Linked DNA regions of Homo sapiens: regions 2, 3 and 4 are each linked to region 1. The links are contacts of gene promoters, found by promoter capture Hi-C in blood cells and fetal thymus (Javierre and others, 2016). All regions are on one chromosome and are shown on one strand. Each heading gives the region's core, a stretch centred on a gene start or on the middle of the fragment in contact. The rest is flanking DNA. Distances are from core to core; before and after follow the strand shown. Region 1 holds the start of FAM222A-AS1 (FAM222A antisense RNA 1). Region 2 has its middle 45 kb from the start of MVK. Region 3 overlaps MMAB (metabolism of cobalamin associated B). Region 4 has its middle 32 kb from the start of MMAB.

Evidence for each region. The method cuts DNA at HindIII sites, captures the fragments that hold promoters and counts their contacts. A CHiCAGO score of 5 or more calls a contact.
Region 2: a contact is called between a fragment that was not itself captured here and the fragment with the promoter of FAM222A-AS1 in region 1, in 3 of 17 cell types (M1 macrophages, M0 macrophages and M2 macrophages). The highest score is 6.5, in M1 macrophages.
Region 3: a fragment that was not itself captured here is called in contact with the fragment with the promoter of FAM222A-AS1 in region 1 in 3 of 17 cell types (M2 macrophages, M0 macrophages and M1 macrophages); the score reaches 7.9 in M2 macrophages.
Region 4: a fragment that was not itself captured here is called in contact with the fragment with the promoter of FAM222A-AS1 in region 1 in 1 of 17 cell types (M1 macrophages); the score reaches 5.4 in M1 macrophages.

What each region holds. Positions count from the first base shown.
Region 1 is chr12:109,772,118-109,775,127 of GRCh38, reverse strand. It overlaps FAM222A-AS1 (FAM222A antisense RNA 1), which reads left to right and starts at 1,641. Exons shown (of 3, transcript NR_026662.2): 1 at 1,641-1,831. RefSeq lists an enhancer at 2,553-3,010. The HindIII fragment of the contact is 7,576 bases long and covers 1-3,010 here.
Region 2 is chr12:109,617,494-109,620,384 of GRCh38, reverse strand. No RefSeq gene overlaps it. Among named protein-coding and RNA genes, the nearest start is that of MVK, 45 kb to the right of the region's middle. The HindIII fragment of the contact is 836 bases long and covers 1,103-1,938 here.
Region 3 is chr12:109,555,616-109,558,897 of GRCh38, reverse strand. It overlaps MMAB (metabolism of cobalamin associated B), which reads left to right. Exons shown (of 9, transcript NM_052845.4): 9 at 1,762-3,282. The coding sequence ends at 1,870. Among named protein-coding and RNA genes, the nearest start is that of MMAB, 16 kb to the left of the region's middle. RefSeq lists an enhancer at 759-1,260. The HindIII fragment of the contact is 5,041 bases long and covers 1-3,282 here.
Region 4 is chr12:109,540,217-109,543,275 of GRCh38, reverse strand. It overlaps a transcript of UBE3B not described here. Among named protein-coding and RNA genes, the nearest start is that of MMAB, 32 kb to the left of the region's middle. RefSeq lists an enhancer at 1,604-2,166. The HindIII fragment of the contact is 5,869 bases long and covers 1-3,059 here.

The DNA of each region.
Region 1 (3,010 bases), core at 392-2,891:
TCTTTTGTGCCTAATTCAATATGAGGGACAGGACCAGTTAGGGCGTACTAGAAATGAGACCCAGCCACCCAGGTCAGGGTTGGGTTCCAGTCCTTGCTCTGCCACAAACTCATTATGAGTCCTTGCAGTGTAATTGGGGAAACTGAGGTCCAGAGAGGAGAAAGGACTTACCCAGTTTCCCCAATTGCAATACAAGAGGCAGGACTCAGCATTTCCTGAAGTCTTGTTTGTTCCATGGGGTGTAAATAGGTGGAAACAAAAACTTAGGTGGTCAAAAAAGTTAGGGAAATGCTGGGTTAAAGCTAAAAGGGGGCTGGGCGTGGTGGCTCATGCCTGTAATCCCAGCACTTTGGGAGGCCTTCAAGGCAGGCAGATCACTTGAGGTCAGGAGTTTGAGACCAGCCTGGTCAACATGGCAAAACCCCATCTCTACTAAAAATACAAAAATTAGCCAGGTGTAGTGGAGCATGCCTGTAATCCCAGCTAATCAGGAGGCTGAGGCAGGAGAACCACTTGAACCTGGAAGGCAGAGGTTACAGTGAGCCGAGACTGTGCCACTGCAAAGAAGTTAAAAGGGAATCTTGCCTGCAGGATCTGTTAGCATCTTTAATATGTTAATGCGATTTGTGTATCTCCAAGAGCCGGGATAGGCATCTGTTTCTCAAACTCTTTTGACTGGGAAACCCACTTTCCAAGGTGACTTGGAAGTCAGCTGCACTAGGCAAGGATGGGAATACTCCACCTTTGTTATATGTCTTTTACCTAATGGCTCTGTGCTACCCAGGGGATTTGACCACCTGTCTCCTAAGTTAAACCTCACATGGTACATACATTAAAATATTAGCCTCATTTTATTTTATGAGACGAGGTCTTGTTCTGTTGCCCAGGCTGTAGTGCAGTGGTGCGATCATGGCTCACTGCAGCCTTGACCTCCTGGGCTCAAGTGATCCTCCCACCTCAGCCTTCTGAGTATCTGGGACTACAGGCACACACTACACCCAGCTAATCTTAAAATTGTTTGTACAGATAGGGGTCTCGTGATACTGCCCAAGCTGGTCTTGAACTCCTGGGCTCAAGTGATCCTCCAGCCTTTGCTTCCCAAAGTGCTGGGATTACAGGTATGAGCCACAGCTCCCCGTTGGAGCCTCATTTTACAGTTGGGAAATAGATGACTCAGGAGTGATCACTTGCCTGAGGTCACACACACCTGCACACAGCCTCAGGATGGAACGAGTTCTGACCCTCAGACAACTACATCCCACAGCACTCAGAGGGGTCCTCTTACAGGACGAATCTGCCCTATCATCCTGACCACACATCACCTGATGCCACCTCACTCCTCCAGGTGCCACCACTTCCTTCAACAGATCTGGAAATTGAGGCTCAGAGAGGCACACAAGTCACCCAGGGTCACACGTGGAGTCAGTGGGATACTAAGTTCCGTTTTCTTGCCTCCTCCCCTCCCCCTGCCACTCGCTGGCGAGCTGGTGATGGTGGCAATTTAAACAGAAAACCTTTCGTCCCTTGCTCTCACCTATCGCGCTGGCTGGACTCCACCTTCTCCGGCCAACGTTGGGGGTGGGACGGGGTGTGGGCCCTTTAAGAGCGCCCGGGAGGGATGGGCAGGCGCAGTGGTGCTGGGCACACGTGGAGCTGCGCGTGGAGGAGTCCAGGCTGCAGCCGAGGGAGCTGAGTAGGGCAAAGTTAGGAGTCGCTGTTTGGATGGCAAGTTCAGAAGTTGGAACTTGTCTCAGTTTCCCCGCTCCAGAAATGGGGTTGTGATATAAAGACAGGGATATGAGTGAAGAAAACACAGAGCCACCCTGGAAAGGTGAGTGTCTACTAACATAGCTTCCTCTATCCAAATCTGCGCCTGAGCCCCCGTGGCCTTCTGGGGCAGCTCTGATCTCTCTGTAAGGTCACCTGTCTCTGACCTGGGGTGATCTTCTAATGGTCACTATGACAGGAAGTGATAGCCGAGGTTTTCTGCACACCAGGCTACCGTATTGGACAGCTCCGTGGTAAAGGGTGTGAGCCCAGGACAGCTAAGTAGAGAGAGAAGGATCCTAGTGTCAGAACAGAGACCTAGAGAAGGACTGCAGCTCCTGCCCGGGGCCTGGATGAGATGGTGGCTTCTCCTCTCTTTCTCCCTCACCCACCGGGATGTCTGGGCAGTTGGGGCTCTGGGATCCAAGGCTGTGCCTGGGTTCTGGAGCCAAATTGGCCACATTTGGCGGTTGACAGTTGTTTTCTATTCTCTGCAAAGGGTTGCAGCTGGGAACTAGGACTCAGAATCAGACAGGCCTGTGTTCTATCCCAGCCACTTCTCCATTCTTCATCCTCAGCTGTGTGACTTTGGGCAAAGTGATTGCCCTTCTGTGGGTCTCACTAACCTTGTCTGTAATGTGGGTGCATGCACCTCTGTTGCGCCGAGTGGTTGTGAGGCACAAGTAACGTTTAGCCCCGAGCCTGGTATCTGGTCTGCCTGTAGTTAAGTGTGGGATCTCAGTAATTGTAGCAGTGATAGCAATGCTTTCGTCACCTGTCCTCCCCCCATCAATGTGGTAATCAAAGGTGATTGATTGTATAAAGAAACCATGCTAGAATGGCCACCGGAGGGCACTTTGAGATCAGCCAGCCCAGTTCCTAGATGGGGAAACTGAGGCCCAAGGAGGCACAGGTAGTCAGGGCTAGAGCCCCAGCTGGGTTCCTGGGCCCAGACCCAGACTGTGCCATGCGCCCCTACATTGCCACGCACACAGACCCCACCCTGTGGAGGATGAGGAGGTTTTTCCAGGATAGCAGGTGCATCCTTTGCTCTGATATCCAAATATGAGGGACCGGGCATGGAGAGTGGCTCCAGCCTCTCCCGTTTCCCCTCTCCTGATGCCCCAGTGTGGGTACGCCTGGCAGTTGACCAAGGACATGGGGACCTGGGTGACCAAGTTGGTGCTTGGGTGGCCCCAGTGGTGACACCTGGGAACAGCTGAGACATAGGCCACCTCCCAGT
Region 2 (2,891 bases), core at 271-2,770, 150 kb after region 1:
ACCCTGAGTGCAAATGTCAACATGGTGAAAAAGGCCAATAATATCTTTGTATTGTCTGTAGCCGTGCTACCCTGAATGTGCCCAATTTTGTCTGCATCTCCAAAGCTACGTAGGGTCAGGCCTGGCAAGTACTTTGATGAAAGGACATCTTTGCGTTATGATGAAAACAGTTTTGACCTCCCAGAAACCCTGAAAGAGTCTTGGGGACCCGCAGAGGTCTGTGGATCACACTTTGACAATCACTGATTCTTCCAGGGCTGCCAGGGGTATTGGAGGTTGTGGATGAAATCTGATGAAAAGAAAGACCATAATAAATGGCCCTACATCATCGGGTACTGTACCACCACCTCTACCCCCATTATCTGGGCCTCTTCCCCATTTTGGGGGCAAATGTCTTCTATCCCCATACCTAGCCCCTCTCCCAATTCCAACTCTGGCTGAGGCTCCAGGTGAAAACCTTTCGGCTCCTTCAAAACCCCCTTCAAAAGTCAACTTCTTCCTGAAGACTTCCCAAACATAAGCCCTCAATGGGGATCACATCTCCCTCCTCTACGGCTCCAGTCCACTCTGCCATCTTCCTCATGGCCTCATCTCATTCTCAGCACCCTTCCTTGGCCATAAGAAGCCCTCAACAGACTCCTTTTGATCAAAAGGAATGAGGATAGAGAAAGCGTGACTCCTTCCATGGCTGGGGCTGATGAGCGAAATTGACTAACCCATGGTTAGCAGGCCAAAGGATTCTGGGAATTCCTGCAATCAATTTCAGAGCATGGGCATATTCCCAAGAACTGAGGACCAGGAACCAGCACCCCAGGGGGACTGGGACCAGAGGGACCTGGTGGAGAGAAAGGGTTACAAGTTCTCCAAGGGCTGACCTAGCCCAAACTGTGACACTGATGAAGCTTACATTTAGGATCCTTCTTGCTGTGTGACCTTGGGCAAATCACTTAACTTCTCTGGGCCTCCATTTCCTCATCTGTCAAGTGAAGTTTGGACCAATCCCTAGCACTCCTTACAGCTCCCCGTTCTCTGAGTCAATTATCTGCCTGTGCTAAAACATGATGTTGACACTCCAACCACCTAGGAGAAGGACAGTCAAGCTTTCTGGGCTGCTGACATTGGAACATAGCACGATGTTGACATTCAAATCTTCTATGACATCATCCGATGACATGCACACATGCCATAATGCTAACACGTGACAAGCCCATCATGCTGACATTCAAACATGCTGTTGCTGACATTGAATGCTCTCTGACGTCATTCACTCAGGCAGCATTAACTACAGCCAGCTATGCGCCGATCACGCCAACAGCCTAGGAAACCACTGAGTCCATAAAGAGTCCCTTCTCAGAACTTTCCTCTCTGAGAATCTAGACCCCATAGCAGCCTTGGGGAGTGGCTTAGTGGGGCTTGAGCTGCCCCGCCTCAGTCCATTCTCTTATGTGCGGAATGGATGTTGCCTCAACATAATGGAAGTGTGACTTTATGACTCTTCTTCCAGGCAGACTCAATCTCATAAAAATCCAGAGCTGTCAATTCGGTCTGGTGGCATGTGTCTGTAGTCCCAGCCACTTGGGAGGCTGAGGCAGGAGGACCGCTTTGGCCCCAGGAGTTCGAGGCTGCTGGGAGCTATGATCGCACCACTGCACTCCAACCTGGGTGACAGAGTGACACCCTGTCTCAAAACAAAAACTAAAACAAATCCAGAGCTGTCACTGCTTAGGCCCCACTCCCCAAGATTCCCTGCTCCCTCTCTGCTTTCCACCCAGGACCTTACTGGCTAGAATATGCGAGTGGAGGGCATCCAGGGAAAAATGTCCTGACCTCCTCCTCCTGCCCTGTACCCCCATCCCTACTGGCTGAGGCTGGGCAGGGGAGGTGGTGAGTATACAGATGCCCACTTCCCACACCCCAGGCTGCTGCCCAGGCAAAGCTTCCAAGACCCAGATTGGCCTTGCCTCTCCTGCCTTTAAAAAAAAAAAAAAAAGGAAAAGAAAAGAAATTCCTGCAACTTGAACAATCATTGTGTTGGATTTGGGAGATGTTATTCCTAGTGACAGACAAGGGCAATTATCTGCAATCCGCCAGCAGTTTTAGCCTAATTTCATTACTGCCGTGCAATTCTCCCTGAGCTGCTAGTCTATCAATGTCTTGCAGAATGGATTAGCGGGCACTTTCTTCATCTTCAAATGAATTTCAGTTGTCATGCCCTTGATGAATAGAGCAGGGGCAGGCGGCTGACCTGGGCCAGGGAGTGGCCAGGGGGCAGCAGGCCAGCGCCCTCAGGTCCTGGTGGGAGGTGAGGTGGTGGGCGGTGGTCCTGGGGGTGAGTGGAGGGAAAGTACCTGAGTGGTCCAGCCCTCCCAGACCCCTCCAGGCCCAGGATTTGAGGGCTGCTTGGACTTGTGTGCTGGGGTCTTGCACACTGAGAACCCCATCTAGGACTCCTTCCCAGATGTCAGGCTGAGAATACTGGAGGGGTTCTTTCCTTGATGGATGCTGCTGACTGGCATCCAGGCCCTCCCAACACCCCATTAAAACCCCAAACACCCAAACTCCAGCTTCCAGTCTGCTTCCCTGAGACACCGTGGACCTCACAGGAGCAGGGGCCAGAGCTGTCTTGTGGCCGCTGTGTCCCCAGAGTCTGGCTCGGAGGAGATGCTCAGACAGTGTTTGTTGCAGGACAAATGATTCTCAGTTCTGCAGCAGCTTGGGCCGGGGCCCGGTGCAGGCCTGGCACGTGGCAGGAGCCCAATCACTATTAGACAAATGGCTGGTGGTACGGGTGGCTTATTAGAAAGAAGGTGGAAAAGGGAGGGAGGGAGTGCTTTGTGAGCCCCCACTACACATCAAGCACCGTGCTGGGGACGCTGCTGATGCGGTGTCAT
Region 3 (3,282 bases), core at 41-2,540, 220 kb after region 1:
CCTGTGCCTGTCCCGATAAGATTTAGATCTTATTGGGAGAGGCTGCTGTAAAAACCAGGAAGAAAAACCTAAGTGCAAAGTGGCATTGCGGGGGCAAAGGGCGTTCTTAGAGGCTGGGTGCTCAGGGGAGGCCTCTCGGTGGTGACTGACCAGGGAGCCAGGCTTCAGGCCCTCTCTCAGCCAGTTTCCTGTCCCCGAGAGGGCCTGCGGCAGCATGAACCAACAAGAGAGCCGGGCCAAGCTGCGCTCAGGGGACCCCATGCAGGCCCCAGTGAGCCAGGCTAGCCCAGGGAGGGCTTCCTCTGCCTCGCGGCCGGCCCATGAGGCTGGAGCCACACCTGGCCCAAAGCCTGCTCTGCGGGTTCCTGCCCCAGCCCTGGCTTCTGTGGCATCAGTGTGGGCAAGGCCAGAGCCTGGGGGCAGGTAGAGAGCTGGGGGAGCAGGTCTGCACCCCAGGAGCTGTCCTGGGTGTCTAGAAAGTGACCTCAGGCCCTTGACTGTGGCCACTCCTCCCAGAGACATGGCGCTTTGACGGGTCCTGAGCAGCTCCTTTCCTTCTGGGAGGGGGGTTTCGCCGGGAGTGAGGAGCAGGTCTACTTCACCTTCAAAGCAGCAACCCTGCGGTCCCATAGCATTGCACGGGACAGGCCATTTCATCTCCTCAGTGAGGCTTCACAGAGCCAACAAGCAACAGGCACACCACTGCCCTCCAGGAGCATGCGGCCCAGGGGTAAAATACCCTGAACAACCTCCCCTTCGCTCTTCCTGAGAGCCAGCCGTGGGGCCCAGGGGGCCTGAGTCAGGGGAGGACTCAGGAGGATGTGGTGTGGAGCTGGCCTCTGAGGGCAAGACTGGGGCAGAGAGAGAGGGAGGAACGTGGTGCCTCGTGCTGGGAGTGAAACAGCAAAAGGTGCGGACAGCAGAAGGCAGAAGAGCTGACAGCGTAAGCGCCTTCTGGGGCCCGTGGCGTCGTCCTCTAGTTCCCTCCACTGCTGCCCCTGCAGAAGGCCTCATGCACAGATGACCATTGCTGTTGGTTCAAAGGAGGAGGCGGGAAAGGGGCTGGGCTCTGGTCTCTAGAGTGCTCCAGCCTGTGCTTCTCACCCGGTACCTTTGGCGATGTTTGGAGGCATTACTAGTTGTCACACTGGGTGCAGGGGTGCCACTGGCACCTGGTGGGTGGAGACCAAAGGTGCTGTCAGCATCCTACACTGCACAGGATGCACAGGACAGCCCCGAACACACAGAATGATCCAGAATGTCAGTAGGGCCTAGTCCAGCAGTGTCAGCATCAGCCAGGGCAGGAACTAGACCTGCAGAGCCCCGGGCCCAGCCCAGCCCAGCCCTCCTGAGTCAGAATCTGCACGTCGCTGAGATCCCCTGGTGATGCCTGTGCACACTGTAGTTTGGGAAACACCCAAACTGATCACGCACCTGAGCCCTGATCACTCAAAGGTGCAAAAACCGGCTCAGAGAGGAGTCCAAAGTCATCTGCCCCATGGGGTAGGGCCGGGGCAATGGCCTCATCCTGCAGGAATGGCCCCAGCCTTGACACTGGAGTAGAGTCCTTGGCATTCACAGCAGCTGGCCTCGTGTGCCATCCATTAAGTGCAAGATGGCTGGGCCCCCGCCCTCCCTGCACAATGTGCCCAGAGTGCGTCATTTATATCTCCTCCTTGTAGGCGGATATGGGAAGACCCAGTTAGCGTTGATCTCTCATTTCAAACCATTCTGTTTGCTTCTCTCTCTCTGCCCCTCCAGACTCAGTGACTATCTCTTCACGCTAGCCAGATATGCAGCCATGAAGGAGGGGAATCAAGAGAAAATATACATGAAAAATGACCCATCGGCCGAGTCTGAGGGACTCTGAAATCACAGAAAGTGGGAGCTTGGAGGATCCCTCCATGGCGATGGCCGTGGAGAGAGGAGCTTGCCCTTCTGGGGTCCTGGTTCCTGAAGAGCTCACCCAGAGAGGCTCAAAGCAGCCTTTTGTCCCAGCTCAGCTTTGATCTACACCTCTTGCCACCTTCCTCAAGGGACTGTGACCCTTTGGGGATTCTGTCCCTGACCCTGCTTCCCCAAGCTCTCCTGGGTCTTGGAGGGATGTGGGAATGAATTGGCATTGCAGGAAAGACAGGTAAAGTGATTGCTGCAATGAGAAGGAGCTGTGCGGAAAAGGAATAAAAGTTGGAAAGGCTGGAGCCGTGTGTGTGTGTGTGTGTGTGTGTGTGTGTGTGTGTGTGTGTGTGAGAGAGAGCCCTCCCACTGCCAGCTCAGGTTGTTCACAGATTTGGAATGGGACCAGAGGCCCTTGAAAATGTAATTGTGATTTACCTGTGCCAAAGGTGCTTTAAATGTCACATTTGTAAAGGGGAAGGCGGACAAGATTTGGAAGTTTAGTCACCTCTGAGCCACCCATCACCGCCAAAGTGTGGGGGAAGGATAGCTGCAGATTGACAGGCGAGGCTCAGAAACTCCTGGCTTAGATTGAAGTGTGTGTGATGGGGGTGCAGCTTAGAGGACCCCCTCTGAAAGGGATGGAGATGCTGATGAGAACAACACTACCACTTGAAGGTGAACATTCCCTGTCTGGTTGGACTGAGTCAAGGGTCTGCGGTGCAGCATCTTCAGCTTGAGAAAATGAGGTTGTCAGTTTCCAGCAAGGCTGACATCCACCAGACTGATTTCTCCGATGTTGCACTTGGCTGGCTTATGCCTCTGAGATCGGTGCCACGGCTGTATTTATTTCAGTTGTCACTGCTGCTCCCTCCTGCTATGAAACGACACTGCCAGTGCCAGCAGTGTCCTTGGGAAAGGCAATATTTATGAAGGGCAGAAGAGGCAGCCCCAAGAACCTAAAGACTGCAGGCTGCTAATTGCAGGAAATGACTTTGGAAGGGCAGGCTCTTGTCCAGTTTCAGGGCTGAAATGCCTGGCGAACTCCATTCAGCCATCACATATTGACTGAGTGGCTGCTTAGCATGGGCCACCGCGCTAGGCTCGGGACAGCTGGTCTTTCCGGCCATCTTTCTTGCTGGCAAGTCAGCAAACATTACCTTCTTAGTCACGTGCATATTTTTGCCTTCATTCTTACCACCTGGCCTGCAAAGTTTGCAGGAGGGCCAGGTATATTCACTTGTGTCTTCTGGGTCCTTTCATTGCTGACAGGCTGTGATGGCCCTCTTGAGCCTTGGGCAGGGTGGGTGAGGTGCAGATGACCAGGAGTGTGTGAATGCCTTCCAGGAGGTGGCTTTGTTCCGTGCCTCCCTGCCCCCATCGTCA
Region 4 (3,059 bases), core at 430-2,929, 230 kb after region 1:
CAGCTCCACCTGTCACTCTACACTGTGGAGACTGTTTGGCTCCAGTGTCTGACACATCTGCAGTGTTCAGACAAGCCACACGCACACGCAGCCCTTCTGTATTTCCCGAGGCCTGAACAGTGGTGTTTCAGATTTTCAATCTGCCAACAATTTTTAAATCTGGAGATTTCACAGACATTGGAATTTGTGGCTTCTTTTGAAAAGTGGGGAGCCTGGCCACATGGTATCTAGCCTGGGCAGGGCGGCCAGCTGCTGGGGCTGAGCAGCAGCTGCCGGTTCCTGTGATGCCCACCAGCCCAAGTTCAAATCCTGGTTTGACCTCTTCCAAACATGTGACCTTGGGTGTGTGACAAATCTGTCTGGTCTCAAAATCTATACTAGTTTCCTGTGGCTGACGGAACAAAGCACCATAAACTCGGGGACTTAAGCAGCAGACATTCATCCTCTCACAATTCTAGAAGCTGTTAAGTCTGAAATCAAGAGATTCACAGGGTTGGTTCCTCTCCAGGCTGTGAAGGAGAATCTGTTCCTAGCCTCTCTCCTGGCTATGGGTGATGGCTGGAAGTCCCTGCGTTCCTTGGCCTGAAGGTTCCCCACTTGAGTCTCTGCCTCTGTCTTCACATGGCCGAGTCCTCTCTTTCTGTAAGGACACCAGTCACATCGGATTAGGGTCCCACCCTACTCCTATATGACCTCATCTGAACTAGTTACATCTACAACAACCCTATTTCCAAATAAGGCCACATGCTGAGGTAGTGGGGGTTAGGATGCATCTTTTTTGGGACAGAATTCAACCCATACACCATCTTGAGGACGGGATTAATAGTATGATCTCAGAGCTATTGAGAGGATTTGGTGACATATTCCAAGAAAAAGTGGCTGGCACCTGAGTAAATGTTAATTATGACTATTATTATTTCTACTACACTTTTGAGACAAGACATAAGCCAGGAAATGGCAAACAGGTTTAGCTTCCCAGGCCCATACCCATGGACTGCTGAAAGCAGCACATGAAGACACAGTGCAGGAATCAATTAGTAATGTCTGCCATGGGTGAGGAGGAGGCAGTGATGACACAGGCGCCAAATATTTCCCGTCCTTGAATAAGCAATTCTCCTTTTCACCCCCTCACCCTATGAGATTGTTTAGGATCTGTGAGCATGTGGTGGTTCATGGCATGAAGAATCACCTCCTGCCACACTTGCTCTGGAAGACAGTTGTAGTGGGTTGAATGGTGTCCCCCTGAACAATCTGTCCAAGTGCTAACCCCCAGAACCTGTGCATGGGACCTTTTTTGGAAACAGGTCTTTGTAGATGTAATTAAGGTAAGGACCACAAGATGAGATCATCTTGGGTGAGGGTGGGTCCTAATTCAAGGACAAGTCCTTCTAAGAGAAGGAGAAAGAGGAAGCCCTAGAGGGAAGACTATATGGGGATGGAGGCAGAGATGGGAGTGATACAGTTACAGCCAAGCACGCAGGGGCCACCAGAAGCTAGAAGAGGCAGGGCAGGCTTCTCCCCAGAGCCTCCAGAGGGAGTGCTGCCTGTGGGCACCTTGATTTCAGGCTTCTGGCCAGAACTGTCCGAGGAGAATACATTTCCGTTGTTTTAAGCCACCCGGCTTGTTGTGATTTGTTGCAGCAGCCATGGGAAACCAATATAGGAGCCAATGGAATTGTTTTAGAACAGCAATGAGAGTTACCTTCTGACCCAATACTCCACCCTGCCTGGCCCCAAGGCCAAGGAAGAAGGGGAGATAGCATTTACTGGGCAACTATAATTTGCCAGGTGCTTAACAGATGTGACCTCGTTTAATCCTCATGGCAGGCAGGAACTGTTATTCACTACTTTACAGCTGGGGAAAATGAATCTCCGAGAAGTGAAATGCTGCCTACTCTCAAGTCACTGAGGGTGGGTGTGGTGATCCGAGCTCAAGTACAGGTCCAAGGTCAAGGCCTGTGCCCTTGACCACTAGTCCACATTGCCCGTCACCGGCCTGGGTCACTGCTTGGTCTTCTGCGGCCTCTTTATCTGGGAACTGCTGTGTCTACAGCCCCTGCTGCCTGCAGGATCCTAGCCTGTCTCATCAGAGCTGACCAGACTAGTGAGGGGACCCTAGCTGAAGGCCACTCAGCCGCAGGCAGGTGGACCACGCTGGAACATGGTCTGAGGGATGCAGCAGTGGTTTGGCTAGAGGCCCCAGGAGCGCAAGGCTGCATAGCTGCAAGGATGGTGGACTCAGAGGCAGTTCATGGGGACGCTGGAGCCAGAGACGTGCAGAGAAGGGCTCATGTGGCCCAAGAGGAGGAGAGGACCACCTCAGCTCCCGCCCACCGCACTTCTTGCGTGGGTCCCAGAGCCGCTCTCATACCTCCTCACCACCTGCTCTGGCTCTGAGCTGGTCTGCCAGCTTCTGCTCTTTGCAACAGCACAAGTTCTGGCTACAACACACAAGTTCTGGCTACAATGTTCTTGTTGTAAAATAACTTGTCCCTCCCCAGCATAAGGCAGGCTAGTTTAGGACTCTGTGTGAGGGGCAGTCCTGGAAGGGCCAGAATGACTTCACAATAGCTTCTCTTTCACATGCCCGTGGTCTGAAGGCCAAGGACACTGGGTTTCCAGAACACTGAGTTTTTTAAACATCCATGTGCCATTCCGACAAGTGTCTTCCTTTACTCAGTGGCCACTGCCATGGCCCCATAAAAACCAGATTTAGAAGCATTTGGAGAAGGCAGCCTGACTGGTAACCCTGCACATAGGGGGCCCGGTGCAGTGAATGGCTCATGCCTGTAATCCCAGAACTTTGGGAGACCAAGGCAGGTGGATTGCTTGAGCCCAGGAGTTCAAGACCAGCGTGGGCAATATGGCAAAACCCTGTTTCTATAAAAAATACAAAATAAACTAGCCGGTTGTGGTGATGCACACTTGTGGTCCCAGCTACCTGGGAGGCTGAGGTGGGAGGATTGCTTGAGCCTCGGAGGCGGAGGTTGTAGTGAACCAAGATTGCGCCTGGGCAATCTTGATCCAGCCTGGGCAACACAGCAAGACCCTGTCTCAAA